Regions from separate parts of the Homo sapiens genome. Here all the other regions are linked to region 3. The links are contacts of gene promoters, found by promoter capture Hi-C in blood cells and fetal thymus (Javierre and others, 2016). All regions are on one chromosome and are shown on one strand. Each heading gives the region's core, a stretch centred on a gene start or on the middle of the fragment in contact. The rest is flanking DNA. Distances are from core to core; before and after follow the strand shown. Region 1 has its middle 36 kb from the start of DCTN6-DT. Region 2 overlaps DCTN6 (dynactin subunit 6). Region 3 holds the start of SMIM18 (small integral membrane protein 18).

Evidence for each region. The method cuts DNA at HindIII sites, captures the fragments that hold promoters and counts their contacts. A CHiCAGO score of 5 or more calls a contact.
Region 1: a fragment that was not itself captured here is called in contact with the fragment with the promoter of SMIM18 in region 3 in 1 of 17 cell types (M2 macrophages); the score reaches 5.9 in M2 macrophages.
Region 2: a fragment that was not itself captured here is called in contact with the fragment with the promoter of SMIM18 in region 3 in 2 of 17 cell types (M1 macrophages and endothelial precursors); the score reaches 7.2 in M1 macrophages.

The regions. Positions count from the first base shown.
Region 1 is chr8:30,191,438-30,194,137 of GRCh38, reverse strand. No RefSeq gene overlaps it. Among named protein-coding and RNA genes, the nearest start is that of DCTN6-DT, 36 kb to the right of the region's middle. The HindIII fragment of the contact is 1,665 bases long and covers 427-2,091 here.
Region 2 is chr8:30,173,912-30,176,611 of GRCh38, reverse strand. It overlaps DCTN6 (dynactin subunit 6), which reads right to left. Exons shown (of 7, transcript NM_006571.4): 3 at 1,422-1,527. Among named protein-coding and RNA genes, the nearest start is that of DCTN6-DT, 19 kb to the right of the region's middle. The HindIII fragment of the contact is 978 bases long and covers 806-1,783 here.
Region 3 is chr8:30,637,137-30,639,836 of GRCh38, reverse strand. SMIM18 (small integral membrane protein 18) reads right to left here and starts at 1,257. Exons shown (of 3, transcript NM_001206847.2): 1 at 1,198-1,257. All of the region lies in intron 2 of GTF2E2 (general transcription factor IIE subunit 2), which reads left to right. The HindIII fragment of the contact is 1,323 bases long and covers 1,112-2,434 here.

The DNA.
Region 1 (2,700 bases), core at 10-2,509, 450 kb after region 3:
TAGATGGGATTACAGGCATGTACCACCACACTCGGCTAATTTTTGTATTTTTACGGAGTCTCACCGTGTTGATCAGGCTGGTCTCGGACTCCTGACCTCATGATCCACGACATCAGCCTCCCAAAGTACTGGGATTACAGGCATGAGCCACTGCGCCTGGCAAACATCAAATTCTTGTTCTTCAATATTAAACCTTCTCTGTTCTGGTGATCTCTGGAGCTTAGTGAGTGTATCACTATCCATCTACTTATGCAAAATAGAAACTCCTAGGGTCATGCTTGCCACCTGTCTCTCCCTTCCCTTAGTATTTAGTTCATCCCTGAATCTTATCAGTTTTGTCTCTTAATTACATCTTTAATTTTTCCACTTGTCCATATCTTTATTGCCACATCCCAAAGCTGCCATTATCTCTTGTTAAACAAAGCTTTTTCTCTGGCTTCATATCTACAATCATGTGTCACTTAACAATGGGGATGAGTTCTGAGAAATGTATCATTAGGCAATTTCATCATTGTATGAATATCACAGAGTGTACTTACACAAACTAGATGATATATCCTACTATATATCTAGGCTATAGCCCATTGCTCCTAGGCTACAAACCTGTACTGCACATTACTGCTCTGAATACTATAGGTGATTGTAACACAATGATAACTACTATACTTCTATACAACTAGCAGCACAGTAGGTTTGTTTACACCAGCATTGCCACAACACATGAGTAATGTGTTGCACTATGATGTTCCAATGGCTATGACATCACTTGGTGATAAGCATTTTTCAGCTCCATTATAATCTTATGAGACCACTGTCATACATGTGGTCTGTCATTGACTGAAACGTTGTTATGCAGTGTGTGACTGTACATGTATAATATGCTCTTGCCCCTTTTCAGTTAACCATCCCTACAGCAGCCAGCAATGTTGGGACCAGGCAGATGCTTACTGCATCAGTAGAGCAGGACACTAGAAAATTGAGGCAACTTTTTGATATTTTGTAACAGGACACAAAATTTCTGCAAGTCACAGACAACGCAGTTCACTCTCGCTTAAATAGGGAGAAAATGTATTATCTACAAGGACTAGGCTCTAAGTTTGGGTTCAGCCATGTCTTGAAGCATCTATATTTTTTATATCTTTGCATTTTGTTGCTTCCCCTCATGGTGGTAAGGTGGCTGCCAGTTCCAAACAGGCAGCATGTTCCCCTATTCACATCCAGTGGAAGAAGGAAAACCTCCCCCAACTATGAAATATGTTCTTCCCTTAGCTTGTATTAGGCAAATTATACATGCACCTGTGGATCAGAGAAAGGCCAAATATTCATTGGAATGGACTGATTAAAGTCAATCCATGGATGGGTGGATAGTTGAACAAAATTGAAGATCTGTTAGGAAGAAGAAAGTGATGTGCTATGGTCTGAATCTGTGTCCCATCCCCCAAATTTATGTTTGAAATTCCATCCCCATGATGGTGGTATTAGAAAGTGGGGACTAGGCCAGGCACGGTGGCTCACATCTGTAATCTCAGCACTTTGGGAGGCCGAGGCAGGTGGATCACCTGAGGTCAGGAGTTCAAGACCAGCCTGGCCAACATGGTGAAACTCCGTCTCTCCTAAAAATACAAAAAATTAGCCAGGTGTGGTGGCACATGCCTGTAATCCCAGCTACTTGGGAGGCTGAGGCAGGATAATCACTTGAACCTGGGAGGTGGAGGTTGCAGTGAGCCGAGATTGCACTGTTGCACTCCAGCCTGGGGGACAAGAGTGAAATTTCATCTCAAAAAAAAAAAAAAAAAAAAAAAAAAAGGAAGGTGGGGCCTTTGGGAGATGATCAGGTCATGAGGATGAAGCCCTCATGAATGGGATTAGCATCCTTATAAAAGAGGCCCAAGGAAGATTGTTTGCCCCTTTTGCCATGTGAGGGCACAGTAAAAAGATGGCCTTCACCAGATATCAAATCTACCAGCACCTTGATCTTGGACTTCCCAGCCTCCAGAACTGTGAGAAATAAATTTCTATTGTTTAAGCCCCTCAGTCTATGGCATTTTGTTACAGCAGCTTAAATGGACCAAGACATGAAAGACAGAAGCTTGTCCTTGATCTCATATGTCTCTTCTTTGGTGCAGAGCTTTAAACATACAGAAGGGGCCACATATCTTGCAAAAAGAGGAAGGCAGCCTTAGCAAAATATCATTTCCAACATGAGAGATTTCACCCTTCATTTTCAGTGTTCAAAACTGAAAATGCACTTGATTTTACGTGGGACAAACAAAATTTAATAATTATAACTTAGTAAAGAGCTTTTTAATGTTTCTATTTGCATTATGATAAAGTTAGAATGTAAAGAATGCCATCTGGGGCAGGGTGCTGTGGCTCACACCTGTAATCCCAGCACTTTGGGAGGCCAATGCAGGAGTATAGCTTGAGCCCAGGAGTTCGAGATCAGTCTGGGCAACATAGGGAGATCTCGTCTCTACAAAAAAAAATTTAAAAATGAACTGGACATGGTTGTGCATGCCTGTAGTCCCAGCTAATTGGGAGGCTGACGTGGAAGGATCATGTGAACCTGGGAGGTCAAAGCTGCAGTGAGCCATGATAGTGACACTGCACTTCAGCCTGAGTGACACAGTGAGACCCTTTCTTAAAAAAAGAAAAAAAAAAAAAGAATGCCATCTGGGATTCAATATGGTCATTTTTTTT
Region 2 (2,700 bases), core at 45-2,544, 460 kb after region 3:
AAGTGAAGAAGTCATTGGTGTGTGGAAAAGAATAGCCTTCCTTAGTTTATTTGATTTTTTTATTTTTTATTTTTTTTTGAGACGGAGTCTTGCTGTGTCCCCCAAGCTGGAGTGCAGTGGCACGATCTTGGCTCACTGCAACCTCCACCTCCCAGCTTCAAGCGATTCTCCTGCCTCAGCCTCCCAAGTAGCTGGGACTACAAGGTGGGGTGCCACCACGCCCGGCTAATTTTTTTTTGTATTTTCAGTAGAGACGGGGTTTCACCATATTGGTCAGGCTGGTCTTGAACTCCTGACCTCGTGATCTGCCCGCCTCGGCCTCCCAAAGTGCTGGGATTACAGGCATGAGGCACCACGCCCAGCCTACTTTATTTTTTAAATTCAAAGTCCAGTGGGTCTTCTCCAGGACAAAGGAAAGAAGATGCTAGCTATCTTTTTAGGCTGTTAATTAGAACCAAAATCATGCCTAACTTGAAAATTTTCCACCCTTAATAATCATTTGGGATTGTGAAACATAAACAGATATTCACATAAAATAATTATTGCTATTAGTTAGCTAGTTGAAATATTTGGAAGATAAAATGTTTGTGTTCTAAGAGGTGGACGCCATTTTTAAATGGTGCTTTATCTCTGACAGTTGAGTTACTGCAGAATATAGTTGCTGTTAATTGACTTACACTGAAGGTGCCAAATGTATTTTAAATCCTAAGTAAGCATTAAATCAGTCTTTTTCTGACAGTTAAATATTTTCCCAAGGTCTTTCTTACAAATTCCATACATGGTTGCTATAAATTAGGTATAAGCTTGAATTCCTTCCCAAAATTTTATCTAGAAAGAACTTATGTTTATGAAAAATTCATACGTATTACAGTCTAGTTCACTCAGATCATGCACATGTTCTAGTATTTTATTATTTTTAATCTTTACAGTTTAAAAATTGCCTCTAAGACTCCACATTTTTCAACTATAATTCTGGGTGTCACCTGTGCAAAACATGTGAAAAAATATATTTGAGTTAAATTCACGTGTTTAGGCATGAGTAATAACATTTCAGCTACAACCAAAAAATCAAAAAAAAAAAAAACTCTGCAGGGTGGTGGGCACAGCACTTGGAGGCTTGAAGTGTTCGGGAAATGTTTGCTTAAGGAATGGGTGAGATAGCCACATGTAAGGGGAAGATCACCAGACCGAGCGTCAAAGATTCTAGGCAGCTACTCAGCTCTCTCATCTTGGACAAGTCTTTTCCCTCATATGGTATTTGGTTTGCTCATTTACTTATGTTGAAAAAGACCCTTAATGCTTCTCTAGCTCTAAAATAGTAGGCCTCCTGGATGTCAGCTGAAAAGGTTCTTACAGACAGCTGAAATTAAGAAAAACCGTTACCCATGGTACTTGGTTCACAGTATGTATAAGAGTCTTACGCATTTATGATAAGGGCCTGTTCTTCTATTAGGTTCCCTTCGCCAATCACTATTGGCCCGGCTTCCGCAATAATTCTTGCTTTAGGGTGGATCACTGTCCGAGGTCCTGTTAAAAATAGTTTGAGAAGAAATTATTGGTGGAGGCTATGCTTCCAACAGAAGGGTGGAAGGTGACTGAGGATGGGTGAGGCTGTTGGGAGGAACATTTTCTAAGTATGTGCCAGGCACCAAGCTAGGTACTTCACAGATACTATCTCCCAGGCTTTATCATCAGTAGTCAGGGCCAAGTTGCAAGCCAATGTGAGTGGAATGGCACAGGCACTAGAGCCAGACAGCTCTGGCTCAGCCTCCACTCGGAAGCTTCCTGTGATCTCAGCGGTGAAACAGAGGTGATGACAACACCAGTCCCACAGGGTTGCTGTAAGGGCTAGGGGCGATAATGCTGGAGACACAGCATGTGACACAAAGGTGGCAATAAAAATTAATTCCTTCTTTTCCCTCAGCAAGGTAACACTCTCTTTGCTTAAGCTGTTCTGCTTTCTTATGCGAGTGTACCTCCGAATTAGTCTTTTTATTACATAATTGAGAAGAAATGTGGAGGCCAAGGCGGGGAGATCGCTTAAGGTCAGGAGATCGAGACCAGCCTGACCAACATGGCGAAACCCCATCTGTACCAAAAAATACTAAAATTAGCCAGGCATGATGGTATGTGCGCCTGTAGTCCCAGCTACTTGGGAGGCTGAGGCAGGAGAATCATGTGAACACAGGAAGCAAAGGCTACAGTGAGCTGAGATCATGCCACTGTACTCCAGCCTGGGTGACAGAGCAAGACCCTGTCTCAAAAAAAGAAAAAAAAAAAAGGAGAAATATGGGTGGACAGAAGTCAGAAATTATGGGATCTAACAGCTTTGTTCCTCTGTCAGTGTCCCTATTACAAGCACACCTACTGAAAGGTGGCACAGCTTCTGCTGTCTGGCCCAGGATATGATTTAAACCAGTGAAAGCTGAAAAGGTTAAAGGGAGGCAGCAGAAGGACCCAAAGGTGATCACTGGAGTCCGAGGACTTTGGCGTGGGGAGCCCTGAGGCGATGCCTCTAGTCTCGAATTGAAGGGAACAGCCAGGGCCCTCATTACTCCCACTTCACCAGCACGGTCTACCCCGCCCTGAGCCTGGAATGCTAACATACTCCCTCCCAGCTTTATCTACCACAGGCTGAGGGTTCTGGTGATAATGAAACCACTGATGAGAAAACATAGCCTCCTTTAGGCTCTCTCCAAT
Region 3 (2,700 bases), core at 8-2,507:
GGGATACTTTGCTCAGGCTAGCTGAATGCCGACTAAGAAAAGGAATAGAAATTATGAAGAAAAAAAAAACAAAAACCCTTTAAAGATTAAATAAACTTACCAGCAAGGTAAAAGGACAGAAGCTGGCTCTTTAGGTCCGATATAGTATATAGATGGAGTTCTAACATCTAGTAAATAACTAAATTTTCATGCTTGAATAGTATAAAATTAGAAATTTGGTCAGCAGTTAATATTAATTTTTAATAGACATGAATGATTGCTCTGAGCCACGAAGATAATCTTGTTACCTAGAAAGGTACTTACTCTCCTTTCTTAACCAGTTCTTCTTAGGACATATTTTTATTTTAAAATGCAGTTTATCAAAAGGACTTACTTTGTATTTATTTTGAGGATCAGTTTAAGAATGACTTCAACATTATATTTAAATGGTGTGATAAATTGATATCAAAAATGAAAGGCTATTTAAGAAGGTTTTTGTTTAATAGCATGACTTTATATTACGAGAGAGAAATTTCACAGTGAAGAAATACTTTAATTAAATGTTAAGGAAGTCTGAAGCTGTATAAATTATCTGTTCAGTGTAGTATAATGCAGCCCATATAGTGATACCTTTTATGATCTTTTATATAAAAATTAAAATTGTGATAATTTCTTGGCATTCTCTGCATCTACATTCAAAGCAAAATAAAAATAATTTTGAACTATTTTCTCATATTCTAAAAAATATAACAAACTTTCTTATAAGTAACTATTTTTTAGCAGCCAATATCATTTGCACATAGAATCAGAAAGCTTTAGTCTGGAATTCGCTTTTGATCTGGGTTTTTCTTTAAGAAAAATCCTTTGTTAAGACAGACCAAACTGCAGAAATGAAATCGCTCAGAGAAAATGAAATTAGCAAGTAACCAGTTAAAATAAAAAGCTATGGTTTACTCTGAGGTCTGGATATAGATCAGGTTCATGTAAAATGTAATGAATTTTCCATTAAGGCACAGATGGTAAGGGTGCTTATCAAATAGCACAAGGCAGTCTTCATATTTTCATAATAAAATCCTACCAAGCGGTGAAACGAATACATTGCTTTTTCTTGATATTTAGTAGGAGCAAAGCTTTCTGGTTGATTTTTCAGGGTAAAATATTTTCCTATTGCATCATAAGGACATGTACCACTAAATAAAAAAGATCATATAAACCTACCTCTTGTCTGAGAGGATGCTGCTGAAGCGATGGTATCGTCTGTTTGTAATGCAGTCTAGTGCACAGCCAAGATGGAGCTGTGCTTCTATTGGTTGAACCACAATGGAGCTGACAGTTTCCTCTATGTTCATTTGCATTAAGTCTTGCCACCCTTAAGAGTAAATCATTCATAAACTTGAATAGAGCTGTCTGGGGTATCAACTGTCATCCCTTCTCCTTTATTTTTTTGTTCTTAAGCTAAATTCCTATATAGGAATTTGTGAGTTACTAACAAATTGATGATTCTTTAGTGTTTCATTATAAAATTTCAGATCCTTCAGTGAATACTTCAGTGCTAGGGCTGGAAGATAATGTCGGGAAAGGTAGTAACCTAGGAAACAAACAGTCCAGGTTTGCCAGCCTGATATTTCCTTCAGGAAGTGTGCATAAAATCTTATAAATTTTTCTTGTTCTTCCTTTTCTTTCATTACTTGTTCCGTATATAATTTTTGCACTCTGGAAGTGATTATTTCCATGTGGTGGTTTGATTTAGGAGGAATTATGAAGGAAAATAATTGGCTTTTAGCTCTGCAAGTTGGAAGAGGGCTCATTTAGGTAAATACACTACCTGCATTCAAAAAATAGTCTCTAAAATGTAAATGGCAAAGTGATCTCCAGGTTGGCTCTTTAGAGACAGAGTATTTTTAGTTACTGTGTATTATTTAGAGTTATGGTCTAAGCACAACAGAATGAAGGTTTTTAATTATGGGAGTGGCTGTTAACAACAGCAGCAGACCAGGTACATGCTATGTAGACTTCTTTTTTAAAATTATAGATGAAGGCTGGGAGCGGTGGCCCATGCCTGTAATCCCAGCACTTTGAGAGGCTGAGTTGGGTGGATCACAGGGTCAGGAGTTCAAGACCAGCCTGGCCAAGATGGTGAAACCCCATCTCTACTAAAGTACAAAAATTAGCCAGGCACGGTGGCAGTCTCCTGTAATCCCAGCTATTCAGGAGGTTGAGGCAGGAGAATTGCTTGAACCCGAATGGCAGAGGTTGCAGTGAGTTGAGATCACACCACTGCTCTCCAGCCTGGGCGACAGAGTGAGACTCCATCTCAAATAAAATAAAATAAAATAAATAAAATAAAATTATAGATGAATTGGTACATTAGTTTCTGGGGCCATAAAGGAATGCATAGAAATATCTGTATTATAGTCATTCATTCAACAAATATTTATTGAGTGTTTACTAAGCTTGACATTGAGTTAGTAGTAGATGCCAGAGACATAAGCATCATGTCTCATAAGCACAACTGTTTGTGATTCATAATTGGCCATTTGTGTGGTGTTTGTCCTTAACACATTGTCATCTCTTTTTTCATAGTCTTCCCAGTTGTTTATACAGTTGCGTGGGGTAAGCTTAATATTATTTTACTTAAACAAGCATTAAATGTGCAGTCACAGATTTCTGTACTTTGACAAAATGGCCAGTTTCAGATGGAATAATCTGTGTAAAGGCTGT